Linked DNA regions of Homo sapiens: region 1 is linked to region 2. Evidence: promoter capture Hi-C in human tissues and cell types (Jung and others, 2019). All regions are on one chromosome and are shown on one strand. The core of a region is centred on a gene start or on the middle of the fragment in contact, and the rest is flanking DNA. Distances in the headings are between cores, read along the strand shown.

The links. The method cuts DNA at HindIII sites, captures the fragments that hold promoters and counts their contacts. A contact is called where the count stands out against the background at its distance.
Region 1: a contact is called between a fragment that was not itself captured here and the fragment with the promoter of EIF2S3 in region 2, in 1 of the 25 tissues and cell types used here (heart right ventricle).

The regions. Positions count from the first base shown.
Region 1 is chrX:23,922,169-23,929,329 of GRCh38, reverse strand. CXorf58 (chromosome X open reading frame 58) reads right to left here. Exons shown (of 9, transcript NM_152761.3): 6 at 1,960-2,091. Among named protein-coding and RNA genes, the nearest start is that of CXorf58, 18 kb to the right of the region's middle. The HindIII fragment of the contact is 5,728 bases long and covers 2,269-7,161 here.
Region 2 is chrX:24,049,221-24,056,440 of GRCh38, reverse strand. It overlaps EIF2S3 (eukaryotic translation initiation factor 2 subunit gamma), which reads right to left and starts at 1,485. Exons shown (of 12, transcript NM_001415.4): 1 at 1,404-1,485; 2 at 763-826. The coding sequence starts at 1,472. RefSeq lists enhancers at 1,227-1,296, 1,317-1,866 and a silencer at 1,927-2,136. The HindIII fragment of the contact is 10,457 bases long and covers 1-7,115 here.

The DNA.
Region 1 (7,161 bases), core at 3,883-6,382, 130 kb after region 2:
GGTTCACGCCATTCTCCCGCCTCAGCCTCCCTAGTAGCTGGGACTATAGGTGCCCGCCACCATGCCCGGCTAATTTTTTGTATTTTTAGTAGAGACGGGGTTTCACCATGTTAGCCAGGATGGTCTCGATCTCCTGACCTCGTGATCCGCCCACCTCGGCCTCCCAAAGTGCTGGGATTACAGGCGTGAGTGGCTGGTTTAATTTTCTATCCAGACCACTAACACTTTCTCCATATCAGCAATGAGGCTATTTTGCTTTCTTATCATTTGTGTGTTCGCTGGAGTAGCACTTTTAATTTCCTTCATAAATTTTTCCTTTGCATTCACAACACGTTTAACTCTTTGGTGCAAAGGTCTAGCTTTTGGCCTATCTCAGCTTTTGACATGACTTCCTCACTAAGCTTCGTCATTTCTAGCTTTTGATTTAAAGTGAGAGGCGCATGACTCTTTCACTCGAACACTTAGAAGCCACTGTAGGATTATTAATTGGCCTAATTTCAATATTGTTGTGTCTCAGAAAATAGAGAGACCAGAGGGGAAAGAGAGAGATAATGGAATGGCTGGTTGGTGGAGCAGTCAGAACACATACATTTATTGGTTAAGTTTGCCATCTTATATGGGCTCAGTTTGTGGTGCTCCAAAACAATTACAATAGTAACATCAAAGATCACTGATCACAGTTCACCATAACAGATATAATAATAATGAAAAGATTTGAAATATTGCAAGAATGACCAAAACGTGACACAGAGACACAAAGCAAGCACATGCTATTGGAAAAATGGCACTGATAGATTTGCTTGATGCAGGTTTGCCACAAACCTTCCATTTGTGAAAACACAACATCGGCCAGGCGTGGTGGCTCACGCTTGTAATCCCAGTACTTTGGGAGGCCGAGACGGGCAGATCACCTGAGGTCAGGAGTTTGAGACCAGCCTGGCCAATATGGTGAAACCCCGTCTCTACTAAAAATACAAAAAAATTAGCTGGGAGTGGTGGCACATGCCTGTAATCCCAGCTACTCGGGAGGCTGAGGCAGGAGAATCGCTTGAACCCAAGAGGCAGAGGTTGCAGTGAGCTGAGATTGCGCCATTGCACTCCAGCCTGGGCGACAAGAACGAAACTCTGTCTCAAAAAAAAAAAAAGTATGTAACTCAATGGTTTTTAGTATATTCACAATGTTGTGCAACTATCACCACTGCCTATGAATATTTCAGAATATTTCCATCACCCCAAAAGAACCCCCAAATTCCTTAGCTCCCTACATATAAAAAGCCATATATCACATGATTTCCTTTATATGAAATATCCGGATTAGGCAAATCCATAGAGACAATGCAGACTGGTGGTTTATGGGGCTGGAATGATGCAGGAATGGAGAGTGACTGCTTACTGGATGCAGGGTTTCCTTTCGGGGTAATGAAAAGGTTCTGGAACTAGATGGTGGTGATGCTTGCACAACCCTGTGAATGTACTTAATGCCCCTGAATTGTACACTTTAAAATGGTCAATTTTATGATGAGAACACATGGACACATAGAGGGGAACAACACACACTGGGACTTACCAGAGGGTGGAAGGTGGGAGGAGGGAGAGGATCAGGAAACATAACTAATGGATACTAGGCCTAATACTTGGGTGACAAAATAATCTGAACAACAAACCCCCTTGACACGAGTTTACCTATATACAATAACAAACCTCTACATGTACCCCTGAACTTAAAATAAAAGTTAAATTAAAAAAAAATTTTAAAAGAAAGTTCTAGTGCTTGGGCATCCGAAAATAAGTTTCATTCTATAGAATATATTTGAAAAATAAAATAAAATATAATACAATAATAAATTTTATATTGTGTTATATTTTACCATAATAAAAAAGTATGATTCTATCTTCTTGGATGACAGAGTTAGGAAGACTTGCTGGGTTTGTTTGTTTTTCTAAATCTAAATTCCTTACTTGTACATAATCTTGCATGGTGACAACATCCATTATATCAGTTACTTTGGACTTCGGGAAAATACGTTCATCTTCCATAATTATACGGTGAAATTTCCTTTCCCCCATTAGTTTGCAAGCATCATCCACTGCCTGTAAAAAGAATAGAAAATAGACTTTAAAAATAGTAGAATAGCATTAATGATCAGCACGCCCTTTACATATTTCTTCTGACAAATACATCAAATATTGTTCCTTTCTTCTAGCAGCTTGCTATTCAATAGAAAGGCTGCATTTGCAAAGAGATTATATAGGGATTATTAAACCACTTAAAATTGTTTCCATAGCCTTATCTACATAGGTTTTTTTTTTTGAAACGGAGTCTTGCTCTGTCACCTAGGCTGGAGAACAGTGGCGCCATCTCAGCTCACTGCAACCTCCACCTCCTGGGTTCAAGCGATTCTCCTGCCTCAGCCTCCTGAGTAGCTGGGACTACAGGCGCATGCCACCACACCTGGCTAATTTTTTGTATTTTTAGTAGAGACCAGCTTTCGCCGTGTTAGCCAGGATGGTCTCGATCTCCTGGCCTCGTGATCCGCTCACCTCGGCCTCCCAAAGTGCGGGATTATAGGCGTGAGCCACCGCGCCAGGCCATCTACATAGTTTTTAAATGCAGCTAGAGGAATTGCTGAGTCCAGAATCCTCAGAGAACATAGTTTTAAAACAACTGGTTTTTCCCCTTAAAAGACTTTTAATTCTTTTATTTTGAAAAGCAAAACAAACCTGTAATATCATTCGTGCAGTCAATGCAGAGAAAACTTATCTGGTGATTCAACGAGTTACCGTAGGAACTGCAATGAAAGGTGTCACTAGTACCACCTCTCTTTTATGTGTTAATACACTGCTGGTAAGTGGAAACATGTATGTTTCAGACTGTTTAAGCCTCCCTCCCTTCAGACTTCATTCTCAGCAGCTAAAAAGTGGCAAATAGAGGGGTTTTCTTTTCTCTCCCAAATGTCAACATTTTATGCTCAAGGAAAGCACCTGAGAGGTCAGAGACAGAAGAATCACAGAATATATGGAAGCTCAAATCCTGTTGGGCCCTACTTATACCATACCCTTCCACATATAAGTATCCTGTGCTAAGAGCTATACATAGACTGTGAGTAGAGACTTAAGTACTCTGCACCCCCGCCATAAGTATGTGCTGACTCTTCTAACACATATTTATATTACAGATCTGTACTTCTGGCCACAAAGGGTATGTTTATATGAAGGGAAGGATAGCACAAAAGAAAATTCAGGGCGGGCGTGGTGGCTCACTCCTGTAATTCCAGCACTTTGGGAGGCCGATGCAGGTGGATCACCTGAGGTCAGGAGTTCGAGACCAGCCTGGCCAACATGGTGAAACCCCGTCTCTACTAAAAATACAAAAATTAGCCAGGCGTGGTGGCAGGTGCCTGTAATGTCAGCTGCTCGGGAGGCTGAGGCAGGAGAATCGCTTGAACCCAGGAGGCGGAGGTTGCAGTGAGCCGAGATCATGCCACTGTACTCCAGCCTAGGGGACACAGCAAGACTCTGTCTCAAAAAAAAAAAAAAAAAAAAGAAAAGAAAAGAAAAGAAAATTCAAACATCTTTTGATTCCAGTTAAGTTTCTTTCTTCCTTTGTATGTCAGAATGCGGTATTTGTGAAAGTATGGGAACTCTGTTATAATGTTGATACAAGGCCTAAAAGAGTGGTTGAGGCCAGGCACGGTGGTTCACACCTGTAATCTCAGCACTTTGGAAGGCCGAGGCAGGCGGATCGCCTGAGGTCAGGAGTTCGAGATCAGCCTGGCAAACATGGCAAAACCCTTTTTCTACTAAAAATACAAAAATTTGCCTAGCATGGTGGCATGTGCCTGTAAACCCAGCTACTCGGGAGGCTGAGGCAGGAGAAATGCTTGAACCTGAGAGGTGGAGGTTGCAGTGAGCTGAGATCATGCCACTGCACTCCAGTCTGGGTGACAGAGTGAGATGCTGTCTCAAAAAAAAAAAAAAAAAAAGAGAAAAGAAAGAGTGGTTGAGACAGGATCAAAACTGAGAATCACTGTTCTTTTTTCTTAACACACAACAGCAAGCTATAATGCATTTTCTATTCCAATTCTCACTTTTGTTATTCAGACTATTCCTTTATTTATTTTTTTAAATTCCAAAGCTTAGAATATCACAGACACATGTAGAAAATGAAAAAGGAAGAAAACATTCAAATGGTTGAATGGTTGAAGTTTTATTCCTAACGTATAGAACTGAAGAGACAAACAGTTTAGTGAAAATGTGATATGGAGCTTTCCTTTAGGTAGATCATTTTTGCTTTATATTTCATTAATTTCTTCTTTTTTTTCCAGCATGCTATTTTATTGATGTAACAACATTTTCAATAAAGTTGGTAAATTATCACTATATTACTGTCTTATAGCAACATAGTAAGAGCTCTAGAGATTGTATAAGCATAAAATGTGAATTTAAAAAAACAATATGTAGGATTTTTATCAGGGCAAGCATTTCCATAACCATAAATATTTCCCTTTTTTTATTATTACACTTTAAGTTTTAGGGTACATGTGCATAATGTGCAGGTTAGTTACATATGTATACATGTGCCATGTTGGTGTGCTGCACCCATCAACTCGTCATTTAACATTAGGTATATCTCCTAATGCTATCCCTCCCCCCTCCCTCATCCCCACAACAAATTTCTTTATACATTACACAACTAAAGAAAAGATAGGCCGGGTGTAGTAGCTCACACCTGTAATCCCAGCACTCTGGGAGGCCAAAGCAGGTGGATCACCTGAGGTCAGGGGTTCGATTCCAGCCTGGCCAACATGGTGAAACCCCGTCTCTACTAAAAAACACAAAAATTAGCTAGGCAGGGTGGTGAGCACCTGTAATCCCAGCTACTTGGGAGGCTGAGGCAGGAGAATCGCTTGAACCCAGGAGGTGGAGGTTGCACTGAGCCGAGATTGTGCCACTGCACTCCAGCCTGGGCGACAGAGTGAGACTCCACCTCATAAATAAATAAATAAATAAATAAATAAATAAATAAAATAAAGATAGTATTGGCAAATCTCTCCATTATGTTTTCTTGCAATTAATTTCCAACATTTTATGGTTCTAATTAACCAGCCCCACAGTGACACTAAAGGTAAAAACAAGTAATTGTACACTGAACAGGTATGAAGACCATATAATTTCTGCTTTAGGAATTTCTGTAGGCATAACTATAATTTACTTTAGCTGAAGTTACTAAAAAAGGGTTTTTAAAATTTTTATTTTTATTTTTTGAGACGGAGTCTTGCTCTGTCACCCAGGCTGGAGTGCAGAGGTGCCATTTCGGCAGACGGCAACCTCCGCCTTCTGGATTCGAGCGATTCTCCTGCCTCAGCCTCCTGAGTAGCTGGGACTACAGGCGTGCACCACCATGCCCAGCTAATTTTTGTTTTCAATAGAGACGGGGTTTCACTATGTTGGCCAGGCTGGTCTCGAACTCCTGATCTTCTGTTCCACCTGCCTCGGCCTCCCAAAGTGTTGGGGTTACGCCCAGCTAATTTCTGTATTTTCAGTAGAGATGGGGTTTCACCATGTTGGCCAGGCTGGTCTCAAACTCCTGACCTCAGGTGATCTGCCTGCCTTGGCCTCCCAAAGTGCTGGGATTACAGGCGTGAGCCACAGTACAAAAGGTATTTATTTAGGGTTTTTTTTTTTTTTTCTGAGACAGAGTCTCCCTCTATCGCCCAGGCTGGAGTGCAGTGGTGCCATCTTGACTCACTGTAACCTCTGCCTCCCGGGTTCAAGCAATTCTCCTGCCTCAGCCTCCTGAGTAGCTGGGACTACAGGTGCGTGCCACCATGCCTGGCTAATTTTTTTTTTTTGTATTTTTAGTAGAGACAATTTCGCCATTTTGGCCACACTGGTCCTGAAATGACCTCAAGTGATCCGCCCACCTTAGCCTCCCCAAAAAGGTATTTATTGACAGGTCCTCCCTACACTGCCCCACTCAGCCACCACCACCAATCTCTCCAAGACCCAGTTTCCTTATGTGTGCAGTGCCTCAGTTGTGTGCCTCATCTGTGTCTGGCCCATTCTGGTCCCTCAGCCAAAGAAAAACATGCCTGGCAGCATAGGGCAAGCTCTCTGCCCACCTGTGAGAGGGGTTTGAGAAATGTTTGCTGTCCAATGGCCAAGATGTTCTTTCTCAGACATCTGCAGTGTATGGCCAAAGTCAAGAAAGTCCTTCTCCATAGGAAGCAATGGGAAAGAAGAGCCTAGAGCCAGGAGAAAAGCAAGGGCAAAAACTAGGCAAAGATTCCAGGATACCAGCCAATCAGGGTAGGATTCAAGAGGCAGGTTCTGTTCTTAGTGGGTGACTCAAAGCGTCAAAGCGGGCCATCTCTAAATCTGGCACTTATCCTGATACTCAGCATCTCTGTGGCCAGAAGCCCCCACAGCTCTGTGGCTATTTGCTGGCCTAGATCCACACTTGGGCTTGTAAAGCTACTCTAGTATCTCAAGACACTTTCCTGTTTCTACTGGGAACTGTCACTCATGGAAGAGGTAATAACTGGTATCCATGCATTGGAACAGTTTCTTGGTTTGGAACAGTCCAATTACATACAGGTTCAGAATAAACAAAACCACCATAACTGCATGGTTGTTTTAACCTCAAAATGTACATAGTACAGTGGAAACACAGAGAAGTGTTCAAGTCTCAGTTATGCTCCTGGCAAGTCTTTCCAACTTCTAGCTTCCTAATAGGGAAAATGGGAATAATGTGTCCCTAACCAGAGTTATTGCAGGGCCATCTAAGAGAATGTGTATGCTGCTGTTTAGCATAGTTCCTAACTCTCAGGAGTGGTTAAGAACTGGGACTTTGGAGGCAGGCTACTAGGTCTTGATCTCGGTTCCTTCATTTTCCAGGTGTGAGACCTTAGGCAAGTTAGTCTTTTTTGTTTGTTTGTTTTTGTTTTTGTTTTTTTGAGACAGACTCTCACTCTGTCACTCAGGCTGGAGTGCAGTGGTGCAATCTCGGCTCACTGCAACCTCCGCCTCCTGGGTTCAAGCGATCCTCCTGCCTTAGCCTCCCGAGTAGCTGGGATTACAGGCACGTGCCACCGCGCTTGGCTAATATTTGTATTTTTAGTAGAGATGGGTTTCACCATGTTGGCCAGGCTGGTCTCAAAC
Region 2 (7,220 bases), core at 236-2,735:
TTATTGGGTCAATATATGCACAGTAATTTGCTTTAACTGGTATAGTCTTAGCATAGGTTGTTCGGAGGTTAGGTTATGCTCCAAGGTCACCTCAACCAAAATTTTTAATGCAGGGGCAGTAGTTCAAGGCCTGTAGGCTTATTTGGGCTTTGTTTGCATTAATAAATTAAAGCTCCAGACTGTAATACTGTAACTTTAATAGCCTCATGGTGGAGTCTTACTTTTTAACTAGGTTAAAAACTAGTCTTACTTTTTAACTTACTTCTGTACTTTTTAACTTACTTTCGTACAAACTGTGCTGTTTGTACAAACTCAAAATGTCCAAAATTTACACTCAGTCAACGTAACTTCTCCTCTAAAGTTCTAGGTGCCAATTAAGAAAAAAAACCTTCTATTTAATCACAGCTTGTACATCAAATAAAACTTTCATAAATTCTGCCCTTGAAATAATCCTGTGTGTCAAGTACAGCCACATTTTTCACCTCTTCCTTAAACTTCTGCTACATATGACTACATACTGCCTTATGCTATTAAACTTTTCTTATGTCTCCATTTTTTCTTCTTACCGAGTCTGTAAGCTACATGTGGGCAGCATTCTTTGTGCTCCCCCTGCACCGCAAATGTAGCAGATGCTTTATTCACAAGGACTCAGTATCTATTTCTTGAATATCTGAATCCTCATACTATTCAAGTAATCACACAAAAAGTGAGGTTAAAATTAATTGTTGGAGACCAAGGTTAGGTCTCTTAAGTTACTCTTACCTATGTTAATTGTGGCTTGTCTGCTGATAACTTCGTGTGAAAGTGGCGTCAACTTGGTAACATCCTGCAATGAAATATATTTTAAAACACTGCACGTAAAACAAATGAGAACTTTTCCTTTGACTTTACGTTTGCTATCTACATCTTGCCACCATCTGCACAGCTTTCCACTACTTCTAAAGCTCCTTTTCCCTATCAGTAACTTTGTACTCCTATGGCTGGGAAGCTGTTAAGAGCCCTTCATCATTACACAACAGACTACACCTCCACTCAACTATTAGGGGATATCTGGAAGTCAGAGATCCCCCCAATCTTGGGAACATTAGCACTAAAAGTAATGCAGACAGGACACCCCCTTCCCAGACGTTCAGAGGCTGAAACCATGACAATCAACATCAAGACTTTCCAGCCGAACCCTCCAGAAGCTAGAAGTCCCACGACCGTACACGCCTGCGCCCAGATCGTGGACTGGCCTGGGTACAGGCGGCGCGAGCATGGCTTAGGGCGCCCAGTTCCAGGTCTCCCTCCTGACCCAGGCTCCTGACCCATGCTCCCGACACTGACTAGTCCCAATACCACCGGGAGGCTCGGTCACCTCCACTCCTGAGCTCACTCTGCATCCTCCCCAAGCAAAACCTCACCAAGGTGGTGAGATCCTGACGCGAAAGATGCGGCTGCCCTAGAGTCACTCCAGCTTCTCCGCCCGCCATGTTGCCAAAAGAGGAAGGAAATCACCCCGGCTGCCGCCTGATCATCTGCAGGGGTCCTAGTGCGGGGCGGGGAAGCGGAGACGGGAAGGCCGAGTAGGGGCTCAGGATGGCCGGTGCAGCAGCGGCCTCACTGCTTGGACATCTCTCCGCTTGAATCTGCACAGTGCCTGTCGGTAGGCTGAGTGGAAAACACGGTGCGAAGTTGCTGGAGCTATTCGTCGCAGACCTGGTAGATATTTGTGCAGGCAATACTGAGGGCAGCCACCAAACCCCCGCCCCGCCGGCCCGTGCGAGGCGGGTGATGCAACCCGGCGCGCGCGCTGGCCTGGGAGAGACCATTTCCGTTTCCTGTGGAGTTTCCCGAAACCTGGGAATCAGCTAGGGTGTGGGAACAGAGAAGAGGGAGTGTCCTCCCCGCCCTTTTTTTTTTTTTTTTTTGAATACCGATTTCTGTAATTTAATAAAGCGAGATCGGCTCGGGGTCGGCGCCCACCTATGACGGGGCTCTTGGCTGGGAGAAGGCCGCGTGCTGAGCCCCGGCGGGAGGTGGGGCGGGCGCCCCCGCGCGGAAGTTTGGTGAAGGGCTCAGAGGGGCAGGGCTAGCAAAATCAAAGTCCCCAGCTTGTTCCCAGAGAGCGATTTCTAGGGCCCGGGAGGTGGGCCTTGGTGACGTTAGATTGCGTTCCCAGTGAATATAGCTAGGTGTCGTAAGAGCGTCTGAAGTTCGCTGGTTTGTGTGTGTGTGTTTTGTTTTTTTTTTTCTTAAAGAAGCAGATCCAAAAAAACCTCGATTACCGATAAATCGGTATTTTAAAATTTAAAGAATTTTGAGACCTTAACCCACTTTTCGTCGTGTTGAAAAGCAGTTGAGTGATTTGTTTTTCTCCTTGCATTTCTATACAAATTTTATCATAAACAGCTATTTCCTTTTTTGTTTGCAATAAATTTATTTCCATAAAAACTTGTTAGACAGCTATTATGCAAAAGTATAGTAAAGAGAAGTGAAAAGATAATATGAAAGCCACAATGACGAATACTGAGAAGCCAAGCTCACTTTAGAATACTTGTAAGTAGTCATCAAGTTAGCTTATTTAGGAAATAAATATTATGAGGCCGGGCGCGGTGGCTCACGCCTGTAATCCCAGCACTTTGGGAGGCTGAGGCGGGTGGATCACGAGGTCAGGAATTCGAGACCAGCCTGGCCAATATGGTGAAACTCCGTCTCTACTAAAAATACAAAAAAAAAAAAAAATTAGCCGCCCGTGGTGGCGGGCGCCTGTAGTCCCAGCTACTCCGGAGGCTGAGGCAGGAGAATGGCGTGAACCCGGAAGGCGGAGCTTGCCGTGAGCTGAGATCGCGCCAACCGCACTCCAGCCTGGGTGACAGAGCGAGACTCCGTCTCAAAATATATATATATTATAAATGAAAAAAATGAGGGAAATTAGGGAAAATGAGGGGCAATATGAGAAGTGAAGAAAGGAATTCATTAAGGTGATAATTGCTACCTCTCTTTTTTTTCCCCCCGACTTTTAAGTTCAGGGGTGCATGCGCAGGATATGCAGGTTTGTTACATAGGTAAACTGTGTGCCATGGTGGTTTGCTGCGCAGATCATCCCATCACCTAGGTATTAAGCCCAGCATCCATTAGCTGTTCTTCCTGATGCTCTCTCTCCTCCCACCCCCAGCCGTCAGACAGCCCCCAGTGTGTGTTGTTCCCCCGCATGTGTCCATGTGTTCTCACCACTCAGCTCCCACTTATAAGTGGTAACATGCGGTATTTGGTTTTCTGCTCCTGCGTTACTTTGCTGAGAATAATGGCTTTCGGCTCCATCCATGTCCCTGCAAAGGATATGATGTTGTTCCTTTTTATGGCTGCATGGTATTCCATGGTGTGTATGTACCACATTTTGTTTATCCAGTCTATCATTGATGAGCATTTGGGTTGATTCCACGTCTTTGCTATTGTGAATAGTGCTGCAGTGAGCATATGTGTGCATGTATCTTTATAACAGAATGGTTTATATTTTAGAGGCTATATACCCAGTAATGAGATTGCTTGGTCTAATGGTATTTCGGCCTCTAGGGCTTTGAGGAATTGCCACTCTGTCTTCCACAATGGTTGAACTAATTTACACCCCCACAAATAGTGTAAGAGCGTTCCTTTTTCTCCACAACCTCGCCAGCATCTTTTGTTTTTTGACTTTTTAACAATCACCATTCTGACTAGTGTGAGGTGGTATCTCATGTGGTTTTGATTTGCATTTCTCGAATTATCAGTGATATTGAGCTTTTTTCCGTGTTTGTTGGCCGCATGTATGCCTTCTTTTGAGAAGTGTCTGTTCATGTCCTTTCCCCACTTTTTAATGGAGTTGTTTTTTATAAACAGCTATTTTAAACCAGAAAAAAAATGTAAGGAGAGGTGAATAAGAATTTAGGTTTTCTGGGCCGGGTGCGGTGGCTCACGTCTGTAATCCCAGCACTTTGGGAGGCCAAGGTGGGCTGATCACTTGAGATCAGGAGTTCGAGACCAGCCTGACCAAAATCCTGAGCTGGCAAAAACCCTCCTAAAAAATAGAAAAATTACCTGGGCGTGGTGGCACTACCTGTAATCCCAGCTACTCGGGAGGCTGAGGCAGAATTGCTTGAAACTGGGAGGGGGAGGTTGCAGTGAGCTGAGATTGAGACATTGCACTCTAGCCTGGACAACAGAGCCAGACTGTCTCAAAAAAAAAAAAATAGAATTTAGGTTATCTGTGTGTTCATTGAATACTTAAGTAAAATTTATATGAATACGTGTTTTATATCACATAAATTTTTGGTACAACAATTTAGCTAAAATAGGAAGTTATGTTTCAATAAATGCATGCATTAGTTAAGTGATGGTGAAAACTGGAGGTAATCACTTTAATCTTACATTCTTTTTTTTTTTTCTTTTTTTTGAGACAGAGTCGTGCTCTCTCGCTCAGGCTGGAGTGCAGTGGTACAATCTCAGCTCACTGCAACCTCTGCCTCCTGGATTCAAGCAATTCCCGTGCTTCAGCCTGCCAAGTAACTGGGATTACAGGTGTACGCCACCACGCCCAGCTAATTTTTTGGTATTTTTACTAGAGACAAGGTTTCACCTTGTTGGCCAGGTTGGTCTCAAACTCCTGACTTCAAAGTGATCTGCCTTCCAAAGTGCTGGGATTACAGGCCTGAGCCACCACGCCCCGCCTTAATCTTAGATTCTAAATATTTATACCAGCCAATTACAAAAACACACTGAGGTGATTAAAATGCCGGGGTATTATACAGTGGTGATGATTGCACATCTTTGTAAATATGCTAAAAACCAGTGAATTGTACAGTTTAATGTGGTGAATCTTAGGACATGTGAACTTTATCTAAATAAAAAAATCCGGCCGGGCTTGGTGGCTCACGCCTGTAATCCCAGCACTCTGGGAAGCCAAGGCAGGTGGATCATGAGGTTAGGAGTTTGAGACCCGCCTGGCCAACATAGTGAAACCTGTCTACTAAAAATACAAAAAAATTTCCCGGGCGTGGTACTGTGCGCCAGTAATCCCAGCTTCTCGGGAGGTTGAGGCAGGAGAATCTCATGAACCCGGAAGGTGGAGGATGCAGTAAACCCAGATCGTGCCATGGCACTCCAGCCCGGGATACAGTGCGAGACTCCGTCTCAAAAACAAAAACAAACAAAAAAAAACAACTCCAGCGAGATAGCGCCACTGCACTCCAGCCTGGCTGACAGAGTGAGACCCTGTCTCAGAGGAAAAAAAAAAAATACAGGCCAGGCATGGTGGCCTCGTGCCTATAATCCTAGTGTGTCCGGAATTGGTGGGTTCTTGGTCTCACTGACTTCAAGAATGAGGCCGTGGACCCTCGCGGTGAGTGCTACAGCTCTTAAGGTGGCGCATCTGGAGTTTGTTCCTTCTGATGTTTCGGATGTGTCTGGAGTTTCTTCCTTCTGGTGGGTTCGTGGTCTCGCTGGCTCAGGAGTGAAGCTGCAGACCCTCGCGGTGAGTGTTACAGCTCTTAAGGCAGCACGTCTGGAGTTGTTCGTTCCTCCCGGTGGGCTCATGGTCTCGCTGGCTTCAGGAGTGAAGCTGCAGATCTTCGCGGTGAGTGTTACAGCTCATAAAAGCAGCGTGGACCCAGAGTGAGCAGTAGCAACATTTATTGCAAAGAGTGAAAGAACAAAGCTTCCACAGTGTGGAAGCAGACCCAAGCAGGTTGCCAATGCTGGCTCGGGCAGCCTGCTTTTATTCTCTTATCTGGCCCCACCCACATCCTGCTGATTGGTAGAGCCGAGTGCATTTACAATCCCTGAGCTAGATACAAAGGTTCTCCATGTCCCCATCAGATTAGTTAGATACAGAATTTTGACACACAGGTTCTCCAAGGCCCCACCAGAGCAGCTAGATACAGAGTGTCGATTGGTGCACTCACAAACCTTGAGCTAAAGAGAGGGTGCTGATTGGTATGTTTACAAACCTTGAGCTAGATACAGAGTGCCGATTGGTGTATTTACAATCCCTGAGCTAGACATAAAGGTTCTCCAAGGCCCCACCAGAGCAGCTAGATACAGAGTGTCGACTGGTGCACTCACAAACCTTGAGCTAAACACAGGGTGCTGATTGGTGTATTTACAATCCCTGAGCTAGACATAAAGGTTCTCCAAGGCCCCACCAGAGCAGCTAGATACAGAGTGTTGATTGGTGCACTCACAAACCTTGAGGTAAACACAGGGTGCTGATTGGTGTATTTACAATCCCTGAGCTAGACATAAAGACTCTCCACGTCCCCACCAGACTCAGGAGCCCAGCTGGCTCCACCCAGTGGATCCGGCACCGGGGCTGCAGGTGGAGCTGCCTGCCAGTCCTGCGCCGTGCGCTCGCATTCCTCAGCCCTTGGGTGGTCGATGGGACTGGGCGCTGTGGAGCAGGGGGTGGTGCTCCTCGGGGAGGCTGGGGCCGCACAGGAGCCCATGGAGTGGGTGGGAGGCTCAGGCATGGCGGGCTGCAGGTCCCGAGCCCTGTCCTGCGGGAAGGCAGCTAAGGCTCCGTGAGAAATCGAGAGCAGCGCCGGCGGGCTGGCACTGCTGGGGGACCCAGTACACCCTCCGCAGCTGCTGGCCCGGGTGCTAAGTCCCTCATTGCCCGGGGCCAGCAGGGCTGGCTGACTGCTCCGAGTGCAGGGCCCGCCAAGCCCACGCCCACCCGGAACTCCAGCTGGCCCGCAAGCGCCGCATGCAGCCCCGGTTCCCGCTCGGGCCTCTCCCTCCACACCTCCTTGCAAGCTGAGGGAGTGGGCTCCAGCCTTGGCCAGCCCAGAAAGGGGCTCCCACAGTGCAGTGGTGGGCTGAAGGGCTCCTCAAGTGCCGCCAAAGTGGGAGCCCAGGCAGAGGAGGCACCGAGAGCAAGCGAGGGCTGTGAGGACTGCCAGCACGCTGTCACCTCTCACTAGCAATTTGGGAAACCAAAGCTGGAGGATCTCTTGAGCCCAGGAGTTCCAGACCAGCCTGCTCAACATAGGAAGACCCCCATCTCTACAAAAATTAGCTGAACCCAGTGGCTAACACCTGTAGTCCCAGCTACTAGGGAGACTGAGGTGGAAGGATCGCTTGAGCCCAGGTGGTTGAGGCTGCAGTAAGCTGTGATTGAGCCACTGCACTCCAGCCTGGGCAACAGAGGAGACCCTGTCTCAAAAATAAAAATGAATAATAAATCATAAAATCCATTGTTAATTAAA